2 separate regions of the Homo sapiens genome follow, and region 1 is linked to region 2. Evidence: promoter capture Hi-C in 16 types of primary human blood cells and fetal thymus (Javierre and others, 2016). All regions are on one chromosome and are shown on one strand. The core of a region is centred on a gene start or on the middle of the fragment in contact, and the rest is flanking DNA. Distances in the headings are between cores, read along the strand shown.

Region 1 (6,075 bases), core at 447-2,946, 180 kb after region 2:
CCTGGTTTGGGCAGGGGTTTGCTCACTACCTTGGGGTTGGGGGCAAGGGGGCCTTCCTAAGCCCAGCAAGGGCCAAGGTAGGGTCTGGGCCCAGGGCCAGTGGGCAGAGCAGGAGGTGGGCCTTCACAGGACATGCGAGGGGAAGGAGGCAGTCAAGCTTCCTACCATGAGGCTCAGTGGTGGGTGGGCATCCACGTGTTCTGGCCGAGAGACCTGTTGGCAATTATGAAAGGATTAGAGGTCAAGGTGCCAGAAGCCCAACTTCCAGGCTAATCAAGGGGGTACTGTGCTCTCTGCTCCTTTACCTCCAGCCCCAGATTTCTCTAGCAGGGACATGGGGCTGGGCTGAAGCAGCCATGGCACTTGAGTGAAGGAGGCCCACTGAACTCTTGTTCCTCTTTAGAGTGTATGTGTGTGTGGCATGTGTGACTCACTCCACAAAGCCGTAAGAAGTGGATGCCACGTGCCAGGCACTGAGTAATGGGGATACAGTAGTGGACACGAGGACCCTGCCTTCACGAAGCAGTCTGGCGGAGGAAAGAGTTAAATAACCACACAAATAAGCACACTGCAACCACGACAGCGCTCAAGTACAGGGAACTATGAAAGCCACTTAGACTAGAACGTTCAGTGTAATGGGTCACTTCCCCAGGGACCTCGGCCAAGGTAATGGAGGTGGAGAGAGCACTCCAGGCAGCAGGAATAGCATGTGAAAGGGCCTGAAGCAAGAAGAAATGGGGTTGGATGAACCAGTGTGGGTAAATTCCCGGCAGCAAGGGAAGGCAGTGAGCGACTGGAGGTTGGGGAAGGCAGTGAGCGACTGGAGGTTGGAGAAGGCAGGAGCAAAAATGACAAACTGTAGGGAAGACAAGAGTGGACATGGAAACCCCTGCCCTCAAGTACATAAATTCCAGTCTCCAGCTCACCTGTCGCCAGGATGGAACCAGGCACAGGGATGTAATCTGATATAAATCGTTCACCTCAATTAAGCCAATGACCCCAGACCCTCTACCTGCCCAGGCATTCCCCCGGGAGGTCGGAATGGGAAAAAGAGTCTTCGTATGGCAGCTTCTGGCCCAGAAAGTGGTTTGTGGGTGGAAGCCCCAGGTCACCGGCACAGGTAGGCTGATCCCCCCACCTGGCTCCTGACAGTAGGAATGCCCGGAATAGCAACCAGAATTTAGAGAAGACAAACAGCCTACCCCACCCAAGGCACCGTTCCTTCCTCCACTGTCACTTATCCTAGGCCTTCCGGGGCAATAAATAGAAAGAGAAAAGGCTCTAGAAGGAGGTGATTTCGCAGGAGGAGTCAGGGCCCCGGGAGTAGACCCAGGCCTGAAGAAAAGGCCGCAGCTGGAGCTCGCCTTACTCAGGCCCCGGACACCGTGGCCGCCACGAGCGGGGTCTGCGGGGAGCTGCGAGACTCGGCCAAACGAAGCCCACCTCGCGCCGCCGCGGGGGAGGGTGGCTGGGCTCGACCACCTCCCACACCAGGCGCTCAAGGCCCCGCAAAGCCCCCGCGCTTTCCCGCCTGGAGGCCCGGGGGACGCGGGGACCCCAATGCCGAAGGCGGGAGGGCTAAGGAAGCGACCAGGGATCACTCGGACCGAGGGCAACCCGAGTCCGCGCCCGCCGCGCCGACTCACCCTCCCTGAGGACCACCCGAGGCTCGCAAACGCGCGACGCCGCCGGAAACGGGCCTTGGCCACCCGCGTCCGCCCCGCCCCGCAAACTTCCGGCCGCCCTGGGCCGCTCGGAGGCCCGGCCATCTCTGTGGTTCTCAGCCCCGCCTCCCAGGCTCCGGAGAAGGGGTGGAGTCAGAGCCGAGGAGGGGCGAGGCTGGGGCCCGAGGGACAAGAACCTGGGCGGGACCAGAAGCCCAGATAGGCGGGGCTGGCGCCTGGGGGCGGGGTACAGTCAGAGGCGGGCAGGGGGCGGAGCCGCGAGGGAGAGGAGGGCCCAGAGCCCGGAGTGGGCGGTGCCTGAGCAGGGGCGGGGCGGGGCCGGGGCCTGGAGCTGGGGACGCGGGCCGGGGCCGGGAGTTGCGGACTCGCTGGCGGGTGGGAGGAGCGGAGTCGGGGCGAGGCTGGCGGAGATCCAGGGGATCGCCCGGTTGGGCCCTGCGCACCCCGGATCACCAGCTTCGGGCGCTGGTTCCCACCGAGGCTGTTCAGGCGCCGCTCCCCCGCGTCCCTGCGACAGGAGGCGCCTGCTGGGCGCGCTATGGACCCCGCCTCGCGGAGACGCCTGGCTCGGGCCTTGTCCCCAGTGAGCGGCTGGAGCGGCCGCGGGGTCGCAGAGCCTCCGGGACCCCGAGGAAGGGCGCCCCTCGGAGTTGCCCGAGGCCGGGCCCGGCGTCCACTCGCCACTCGCCTCGCCCCTCCCCGGCCCCGCACCGCCCTCCACCCCGCCTCCTTCGGGTTCCTTCTGCGTCCGGCAGAGCCTGCGCGCCTCCCCCGGACGGCCACGGACTCGCAGCCTCGGCGAGGACGCTGCCTGCGTCCCGACTGCCTGGACCTCCCCGCGTGGCTCCCGGCGAAGCCCAGCAGCCGGAGGGTGCCAGGTCCGCCTGACGCGCCCCTCCCCACGGGAAGAACGGGGCGGGGGTCCAGGAGGGACGTAAGCCGGGCTCCCCCGGCGTGTTGATCCGAACCCGCGCGGGAAAACTTGCGCAAACCAAAGGAGGGAAGAGTCAGGCAGCCCCCAGCCCCCCAGGGAGGCCCAGGTGAAAAACAGACGCCGGCCTCGCCTCTCCCGGTGCGGATGATCCCGGCACTCCCACCCCCGCCCCTGCTGCCCCGAGTTCGGCTCCCTCAGCCCCACATCCTCTCTGGTCATCTAAGTGGACTGCAGCTGCTCAGGGAGCATGTCGCGAAGGATAGGGAAGGACAGGGGGTCTGCTTCCCCAGCCGCCCTCCAGACCCCCAGGGCTGGTAGGGGCCGGCAACCCTATGCCCCAACCTGGCCTGCTGCAGGTGAGGGGGGCACACCAGGGTAACACAGGAGCAGGAGGGGGAGAAAGCCTGGCTAGAGCATCCACCTCATAGGCACCTTCCTTGTGTCCAGGGTGCAGATGCCAGGGCTCTGAGGCCCTGAGGTCCTGTCTGGGGCGAGGGGGCTTCCTCCATCCACTGCATCCACTGCCCGGCTGAGTCTAGAGGCCACTGAGCAAGCAGACCCTCCAAAGCCAGGCACACTCAGGCCCTCACATGGTCACGGTGCTTATGCTCTGGGCCAGCCTGGATTGCTCATCCCTAGCTGAGATTGGGATTCACAGGGTCTTCCAGTTCCCCCTTTTCTTTCTCTACTGATTGAGAAACACAGAGTCCTTTGATTGCTCTGGGACCTGGCCATTGCGTGTTCCCTGCAGCCTTGAACCCAGTTCAATGGGGCCGGGCACATTCCCTGATAAAGCTGTTTAGGTTGCTTGAAAACACAATCAACCCTATTGCTAAACACGTAGAAACTGGCCCTGCCCTGAGTCCAATCCCTTAAACTCTCATCTAAGCTCCATAGCCAGAGTCCCTTGCTGCAAATGTACCTGGGTGGAGCATCCCTTGCCTCATCATCGATCCCAAGAAAGCTGAAGCTCCATGTGAAAATTTCCGGAAGAAATGCTCTGGACTGATCACCCTGGCGTTTAGAGCTTCTTTCCTTGGAATCCCAACCAATTCCATCGCGGGACTGTTTGGGGAAGTCTTTTGAGGCAACTCCCTTGCTGCCACTTTTGGGGCAACTCTAGCCTCCTCATATTTGGCCAGATAGAACAGTTCCAAGCTGTAAATGTTTCCAGGAAAAAATCTCAACTACAAAGACACTTTCAAGGTGCTGCATTTCCAACAGCACTCTCCGTATCCGAGTGGACAGCCCAGAGCAATGGTGCTTCCAATCCACAGAGCCCCTCCACAGGTCCCTTGCCATCTGCAGACACCCACATCTCAAGGTGAGTGCAGACACCCACATCTCAAGGTGAGTTCAAATGTATCCTGGATTTGTTTTTTGTTTGTTTGTTTGTTTTTTAAGGCAGAGTTTCACTTTTGTTGCCCAGGCTGGAGTGCAATGACAGTCTCAGCTCACTGCAACCTCTGCTCCCGGGTTCAAGCGATTCTCCTGCCTCGGCCTCCCGAGTAGCTGAGATTACAGGCACCTGCCACCACGCCTGGCTAATTTTTTGTATTTTTAGTAGAAACGGGGTTTCACCATGTTAGCCAGGCTGGTCTCGAACTCCTGACCTCAGGAGATCTGCCCACCTCGGTCGCCCAAATTGCTGGGATTACAAGCGTGAGCCACCGCGCCCGGACCCGTGGATTTGTTTTAACAGGTGTGGTAAGGCATGCACACGTGAGAATGACTGTTGTGAAGGAAGAAGTTATAGTCGTGGGTCCCTGGAAACTGGGCAGGGCACACAGGGCGACATGAGAAGGACCAGGGATGGCCAGGAGGCAGAAAGGGGGAGAGGACTGAGTTTGGCCGGAGCCTTTATTTTCTCTGGAAGGAGAGGGCAGGCAGGGTAGGTATGCAGAGTGAGCTCACGATTGGACTATTTGAACAATTGTGGCAGGCTCAGGGCTGTAGGGGTGGCCCCTTCTTGTCCGGTACCTGGCCCTCGGGTTACTTAGGGCAGGGGAAATATTGGCTTGGTGAGTGACCGTGTGATAAGGGAGGGAGATAGTTGTGGACTCTGGATTGGTTGGTTTGTGTCTCAAAGGTGCACTGGGGCTGGGCACAGTGGCTCACGCTTGTAATCCCAGCACTTTGGAGGCCGAGGAGGGCAGATCACCTGAGGTGAGACCAGCCTGGCCAACATGGTGAAACCTCGTCTCTATTAAAATACAAAAAAATTAGCAGGGTGTGGTGGTGCACGCATGTAGTCCCAGGTATTCAGGAGGCTGAGGTGGGAGAATCGCCTGCACGCAGGAGGCAGAGGCTACAGTGAGCCCAGATCACGCCACTGCACTCCAGCCTGGGTGACAGAGCGAGACTCCGTCTCAAAAAAAAAAAAAAAAGGTGCACTGGAAGGGGAGTGTTTGCCGTCTCTGGGAATTAGCTAGCCCTGGAGGGAGCAGCCTCTCCAGGATCAAGGCCCCAAATGCTTGGGTGACCCTGGAGAGCAGGGACGGAGCCCTGCAAACAAAAGGTTCTTCATTCTATGCACACACTCTCTGGTGCATGGTTTCAAAATGTCTTCGTGAAGTCGGGTCCAAGCCTCTATGCAGTGGAGAGAACACCTAGGGAGGAACAGTGCCTGACGGGTGAGCTGGGGAGGAGTGGGCACTGCCAGGAGGGCACTGGGCTGCTGTGGGATGGGGTGAGGTGAGCATCAGGTCGCGGTGCTGTAGGTGTTCCTGGAAGGCACCCTGGGCCCTCTGGACAGTCAGTCCTCACCCATGCCGCACCCATCAGAGTACAGAGATCGTGCCTCCCTGTAGTGATGATCTGTTTGGGATGGCATGATGACAACCACAAGCAGAATCTGCTTTTCTCTAACAGCCAAATCAAGAGAGACTGGAGGCTTGTGCCAGCTGGGCATCTTTGGGGGTGAGATCTTGGCAGCCGCTTCCTACCCTTCAAGTGTCCTGTGGGCAGCCCGCCTGGCTAGCTGGGTATGAGGGTCCGCCGGTTCAGGCCCTGCCTGCTGCACCTCCCCAGGCTCACTCCAGGCCTCTGGACTGTTTTCCTCAAGCAGGATTTCCAGCCTGCAAACCTGAGCTAATCTCCCTGCTGGAATGAGGGGAGGCGCCCTGGATCCTCACCCGGCCAGAAACGGGGGAGAGTGCTCCCAAGGGACCCTAGCAGAGGTGAGTGAGCGTGAACAGGGTGGACACAGCTCCACTGCCATAGGCCAGGCCACAACTTGGAGTGGGCCTGGGAGCTCAGAAGTTTCGGAGGACAGAGAACTAGGAGCCAGGAGCCTCCAAGAGCCACAGCGCCCACCTCACGGAGGGCTGGGGCAGACAGCTGGCCCCACCTGGGCACCATGCCATACAGAGACCCACGAGTGCCAGAGCAGCCACAGGACTGGGGTTTTGGGAACAGCAGTAGAGGCTGCTGCGCACACACAGAGGAGGATGGCAC
Region 2 (6,422 bases), core at 45-2,544:
CTTGGGCACCATGAAAAATCCAACTTTTAAAAAAATATTTAGGGCCGGGCGTGGTGGCTGACACCTGTAATCCCAGCACTTTGGAAGGCTGAGACGGGTGGATCACTTGCGCTCAGGAGTTCAAGACCAGCCTGGGAAACATGGCAAAACACCACCTCTACAAAAAAATACAAAAACTAGCTGGGCGTGGTGGTGGGCGCCTGTGGTCCCAGCTACTCCGGAGGCTGAGGTGGGAGGATCGCTTGAGCCCAGGAGTCGGGCCGTAATTGCGCCACTGCACTCTGGCCTGGGAGACGGAGAGAGACCCTGTCCCGCCCCCACCTTCAACCACCCCCCAAAAAATTAAAGATTTAGTGTGGTGGCGCGTTGCTTGTAGTCCCAGTTACTCGGGAGGCTGAGGCAGGAGGATCGCTTGAGCCCGGGAGGTCGAGGTTGCAGCCTGGGCGACAGAGCAAAACCCCATCTCTAAAAAATAAAATACCCTATGGCTCTTCCCACAACTGCTCATTCTCTGACATCTTAATGCTCCCACTGTCCCACTGAAGACGGGCTGCTTTCCTTTCCATTCTCGTAAGTCCTCCCTCCGGGCCCGTGCTCCTCACCTGCCCGGGTCGCACCTGGCCTCTCCCCTCACTCCGCTTCACCCCCGCCCGCCGCCCGTTCCGCAAGCGCGTCTCAGCACCGAGTGGTTGGTTCTCGAACTCCAGCTCCACCGCAATAGGTCTGAAACCTCTCTGCACCTCGGCTTCCTCATTTAAGCGATGGCAGCAGCCTTCTAGAGGGGGCGATGAGGTCAAAAGACTACAGGTGGGAAGTGCTAGGTGCACAGCGGGCGCGAGCTGGATTCTGAGCTTGATCACTACTTGGAGGTGGGGGAAAAGTCGCCCGAGAGAGGGGGACAGTGCACCGCGAGACGTCCTAGGTGAGGAAGGGCCGGGTCCAGAGCACGGAGAACAACCCCCGGTTGAGGAGCGTCCGCAGGAACGCTCGGTGTCGGGGTCCCTTCCTTCGCAGCCGCACGCCGCCGGCGGCACCTCTGCACCTGCGCCCTCTCGCCCGCAGACTCCGCCAAGGGCTGGAAGGGACGTAACCGGGAAGGAGCAGGACTGCCGGAGCATTGAGTACTATCAGCCGCCTAGAGCGGACCCACGAAACCTGGAATTCAATTGGTTGGTGAGCTGAAGGGCAGGGCGGAAGTTCAGATTAGGCATTTCCGGCCCAGGGGGCTTGGCTCCCCGCGGCACGGGATTTAGCGTTCGCGCTCCTTCCCTTCCCGTGGTCGAGCCGAGTGAGTCCCGAGCTAGGGCGCCTGGTGCGGAGGTGCCGGAGTGGCGCTGGGGCGGGCAGGGGCGGTGCCGTGGTTCTGAGAGGCCGCAGGTCGGGCCCCGCGGCCTCAGTGACCCGTAGAGGACGCGTCGAGGGCGGCTGCGGGGTGCTGAGCGCCCGCTTTGTGTTGGCCGAGGCGCGGGCAGGGCGAGGGTGGCGTGAGGCACGAGCGGAGGCAGCGGGGCGTGCAGGTCTACGGGCTGTCATCCACGCTCCCGAGCAACACTGAGGCAGGGAAGCCAGATGGGTAAAAAGATCTCGCAGAGGAAGGGAGTTTGGGCAATGTCAGGGGATGAGCTGAATTGTGCTTTTTTTTTTTCAGAAGAGAGAAAAGTGCATTTCATTTAGCAGGAATGTATTGATTGAAAGGGTAAAGCTGTGAGAGCTGTGGTGTGAAGGAGCTTCTGTTTTGGGGAAGGAAAGGAATAGGCAGGAGGTGATATCTCACAGATGCGCTGGAACAAGCTCAACACTCATTCATTTAGTAGGCACTCGGTAAATGCTGACTTACTGATTAGGACAATTGAGACTTAGTATTGTTTGCGGTTTGCTAATACTGTGCTGAGCATTTTATACATATTCTCATTTAACGCAATATAGTCACTTAAGGAGTAGTGTCAATCTCATTTTATGGTCTGTGGAAAAACTCAAGTCACTTACCTGAGACCTCTGCATGAGTAAGTGGTGGATCCAAGGTTAGAACTCAGTCCTATTCGAGTCCAGAGCCCATGCGCCTAATAGCAGCATTACATGCCTGCCACATGCGTTTAGGAGTGAAGGCAGAGTACACTAAGAGGTACCGCTTGTGATTCACAAAGGGCATAAGCAGCAGGGGCCAGTCAAAGGCAAGCCCTGTCTGAGGACTGGAAGATTCCCTCTGGCCAAGGTGTGCCTCAGCTGGAGACTGTGAAGACATCAATGAGCTTATGTTCAGCTGCCAGTCAGAAAGTCTGTCCAACGAAGGCTTAAATGATGATGAGACAGGGTTTGTTCCAGAGTTTGTTGTGAAATGCCAGGGCTCTAGAACGTGTCTCCAACGTTCTCTTGGCTTTCCTTTGTGGTCACTCCATTCCCCTTATTTCCTTTCAGATGCCTCTTGGCAAACTTCCCTTAACATCTTGGTGACGAGAACTGGGCCTTGCGGTCACCTAGAGCGGAAGGAAAAGGGCGCATTTCCTCCTGAACTAAACTAAGGAATTTGTTTATGTGTAGAGGGCTGTGGGGAGGTGACTTGTTGTGTATGCTGAGGCCAATTGGGAAGGCTTTTGTGGGAGTGACACATATCACTGCTAAAATAAAACCAGATTTGTGGTTTTAGATGTCATCTGTGTACTGACAGTTTTCAGTATATACCCAGCCAGCCCAACCTCACTCCTGAATTTTCAACTTGTATATCCAAATGCCCTAATTTTCCATTTATAAATCTAATAGGTATCTTAAACATTACTGTATACAAGACAACTTTTACATTTAATCTTTTTGCAGTCTTACTCTTTTGAGTATATGGAAATTTCATAATTTCAGTTGCTCAGGCCAAAAATCTTGGTGTCTCGTCCTACATGAAATTCATCTGCAAATCCTATTGATGGTACCTTTGAAATGTATCCATAATCTGGCTGCTTTTTGTCACTTCTGCCACCACCAGTCTGGTCCAGGACATTCATCTCTAGCTGGATTGTTGCTAGAACCTTCTGACTGGTTTCCTGTTTTTGTTCCTTACCCCCACCCCATAGTCTATTCAAAGCACCCTCAAAGCAGCAGCTGTAGAGACCACATCTGAGGTCATATGACTCTTCCCAGACATTCCAGGCACTTCCCATCCATTCAGAATAAAACCCATTGCCCTAAGGCTTACAAGGTACCCACCCCAGAGGGTACCCACCTCTTTTACCCTCCCCTAGTCTGTTTGAGCCCCTCTGGCTTCTTTGCCCGTTCTTGAACACAGGTGTGCTTGCATCTCAGAGCCTTTGCACTTGTGCCCTCCTCCTGCCTGGGATGTACCTCACTGATAACCACATGGTGCCTACCCTCACTCCATCCAGATCTCTGATTTGTTGTCACTTTATCGGAGGTGTCTTCCCTGGCCATCCTGTGTAAAATATCTCTTACCACCAGTCGCTGCCCTCGTGCTGCGTCATTAATTTTTTGTATCCTTTGTCATTACCTGACACCACCTGGGCGTTGTGTCTGTGTGTCATGCATATGTGTTAACTTCTCCATTTGCTCATTCGCTGCCTTAGCACCAGAGCCTGGTCCGCTGTTCTCAGCTGTTTGCCGTCTGCGCAGGACCTCATAGGTGGGCCTGGGAAACGCAGTCCATTGTCTCTCCTGGCCAAGTGCACTGCCACAGTCCTGGCTTTCACATGGTGGCCTCAGGATGCTGTCATCCCAGGGGCCTCAGGAAGGCCTCTCTTGAGACATGGAGAGGTATGGCAGAAAATTAGGGAGGGGATATGGTCTCAGAGACCACTGGCTACTTAGTTCATCCACCTTTCCTGGGGTGTTCAGGCAGCTCATAATTGGGTCTCTGCTACCACAAAATGTCTAGGCTTAGAAGTCTCAGAGCACCTATGGGGAGCAGAAGGTTGGTCAGGCTCCATCACCCTCCTCTCCCTACAGCTCTGCCCACACCTCAGGACAAGCTCAGAGACCTAGTGATGGCTGTCATGCAGCTCCTTCTTGGTGGGCTCCAAGTGAGTGGTCCTCATGGAGTCTCTTCCATGTGACCTCAGCCTTTTCTCAGCAGGAGTCTGTCTATAAGGAGCTGGTCCCAGAGGGTGGACAGCTCCCTGTCTCCACCGATGTCCTCAGTTCCTGAGTTCAAGTCCCTGAAATGTACTTCTCACTGTTTTACTGTCCCTGGACCAGGTACAGTAGAGGTCAGAGTTGGGGCACACCAAGATGAGCCAATATAGTGTCTGCCTCAAAGAGTTCACATTAGTGGGGAAGACAGGTACATGTTCCCAGAGGGATTTTACCAGTCCTGAGCCTAATATCTTCTCCCTCCAGGTCCTGACCTGAGGGCTGCATCAAGATCTTGTCATTCCACATCGTGGTTTCCTTTGAGGATGTGGCTGTACCCCTCTCCCAGGAGGAGTGGGACTGTCTGATCCCTGCTCAGAGGGGCCTCTACAAGGATGTGATGATGGGGACCTATGGGAACCTACTCTCATTAGGTAAGTTCCCTCCCTGGGGCTCAGCTCCTGGGCTTCCTGCTCCTTAACCTTGAGGATCAAGCTTGGGGCTCAGAGGCTCCTCACCCCCTGGGCCCAAAGACCAGACATTTTGACCATGGTACCATGCAGGTCTGGTTTGCACAGAGAGGGGGACAGGTGGTACTGGGACCCTCCTTGATTTTTTTTTTTAATAGGCAATGTCTCACTCTGTTGCCCATCCTGGAGTGCAGTGGTGAGACCATAGCTCACTGTAACCTTGACGTCTTTGGTTGAAGAGATCCTCCTACCTCAGCCTCCCAAGTACCTGAGACTACAGGCATGGGCCACCATGCCTGTCTTATTTTACTTTTTTAGAGACAGAGCCTCTGTGTTGCCCAGGTTGGTCTCAAACTCCTAGCCTCAAGGAATCCTCCCACCTTGGCCTCCCATGCCTTTCCAACCCTCCCTGATTTATAGAAGGAGAATATTATTCATTGCACACCTAGTACCTCCCTATCCCCTGAATTAATCTTTCTGCATCTTGATGATCGGTGGTAGGATACACAGTTTATAAACGAACCTGAGGCTAACAAATACTGTCACTTTTCTTAAGTTTACACAGCCTATTGGTGGCAGATCTGGGATATGGATCTGTTCGGTTTCAGAGCCCTGCTTTCCTTTCACTGGAATGTGCTCTTCGCTTTAGCCCTTTTTTTTTTTTTTTTTTGGTTTCTGCTAGCCTTTATTTGAGAAAATTTACACAAAAATCCCCAATGCAACATTTACAAGTGAATCTGTATAAATCCCATATGCCTCTTTCCCAAACTGAAAAATGGCTTTATGACAGGGGTCCATGACAATGGTATAAAAATACTTACTTAAACTGCATCATTCTCATTTATATTATACAGACCATTTTGGATAATATGCTCAAAAGTGGAGGAAAGCACATAACACCCCTGTTTTTAAAGATTATTTGCTCTTGTATCAGTCTTTTGTCAAAGGCAAATACTTTTACTTCTTGGATAAAACCAAGGTATAATATCAATTAACTTTTAAACCAAAAGCACAAAATGTCCTAGTTGATAGTTTTGGCATGAGTAAAGGGAAGGGACATGAGAGAACATCAGCTCCTACAAAGCTTAAGTTTAGGGTCACACTTGGGAACAAAAGCATCAACAAAACAAAATATTCTCTTCTCCTATCTTCTTGACATTTTGTCACATCAGAAGAACATAACTAACAGAGTAGCTTTCATTGCTCCTGAAAAGGGGAAAGGCACCAGTCAGAAATAGGAAAGAAAATCTTGTTAGGTTAATGGTACATGATAGAATTTCACATTAAAAAGTTTAATGATGGAGGATGGGCGTAGTGGCTTACACATGTAATCCCAGCACTTTGGGAGGCTGAGGTCAGTGGATCACTTGAGGTCAGGAGTTCAAGACCATCCCGGCCAACACGGTGAAACTCCATCTCTACCAAAAATACAAAAACCAGCCAGGTGTGGTGGCATGCACCTGCACTCCCAGCCACTCTGGAGGCCGAGGCGGAAGAACTACCCGAACCCAGGAGGTGAAGGTTGCAGCAAGCTGAGATAGCACCATTGCACTTCAGCCTGGGCATCGCAGCAAGACTCTGTCCCAAAAAAAAAAAAAAAAAAAAAAAAAAGTTTAAGAATGGAATCCAAGTAGACTTGGATGTACCCTCTGTAACTTAGTATATGTAATACTACATGTAGACTTTCTCAACATCTGCTGCCTATGGTAAGGATCTGCAGCCAGGTTCTCAGAAGCAGTACCTACCAATTCTTAACAGCAGGTGGCAATGTTGTACAAGTTAACGACAGAACTACTTTTATGCCACATGAGAGGAAGATACAAGGAGTCAAAAGGGGGAAAAAAACAGGTTTGGGTTCATAGTAGCAGGAACATGAACAGAATA

What was found. The method cuts DNA at HindIII sites, captures the fragments that hold promoters and counts their contacts. A CHiCAGO score of 5 or more calls a contact.
Region 1: a contact is called between the fragment with the promoter of ZNF7 here and the fragment with the promoter of ZNF252P-AS1 in region 2, in 6 of 17 cell types (naive CD8 T cells, total CD8 T cells, total CD4 T cells and 3 more). The highest score is 6.6, in naive CD8 T cells.

What each region holds. Positions count from the first base shown.
Region 1 is chr8:144,823,181-144,829,255 of GRCh38, reverse strand. ZNF7 (zinc finger protein 7) reads right to left here and starts at 1,696. Exons shown (of 5, transcript NM_003416.4): 1 at 1,647-1,696; 2 at 166-213. The coding sequence starts at 168. It overlaps LOC100130027 (a long non-coding RNA gene), which reads left to right and starts at 2,216. Exons shown (of 5, transcript NR_147501.1): 1 at 2,216-3,943. RefSeq lists enhancers at 467-992, 993-1,518, 1,519-2,044 and a silencer at 1,376-2,505. The HindIII fragment of the contact is 9,547 bases long and covers 160-6,075 here.
Region 2 is chr8:144,997,683-145,004,104 of GRCh38, reverse strand. It overlaps ZNF252P-AS1 (ZNF252P antisense RNA 1), which reads right to left and starts at 1,294. Exons shown (of 1, transcript NR_026974.1): 1 at 1-1,294. It also overlaps the pseudogene ZNF252P and the pseudogene TMED10P1. RefSeq lists enhancers at 452-581, 325-901. The HindIII fragment of the contact is 5,513 bases long and covers 1-4,565 here.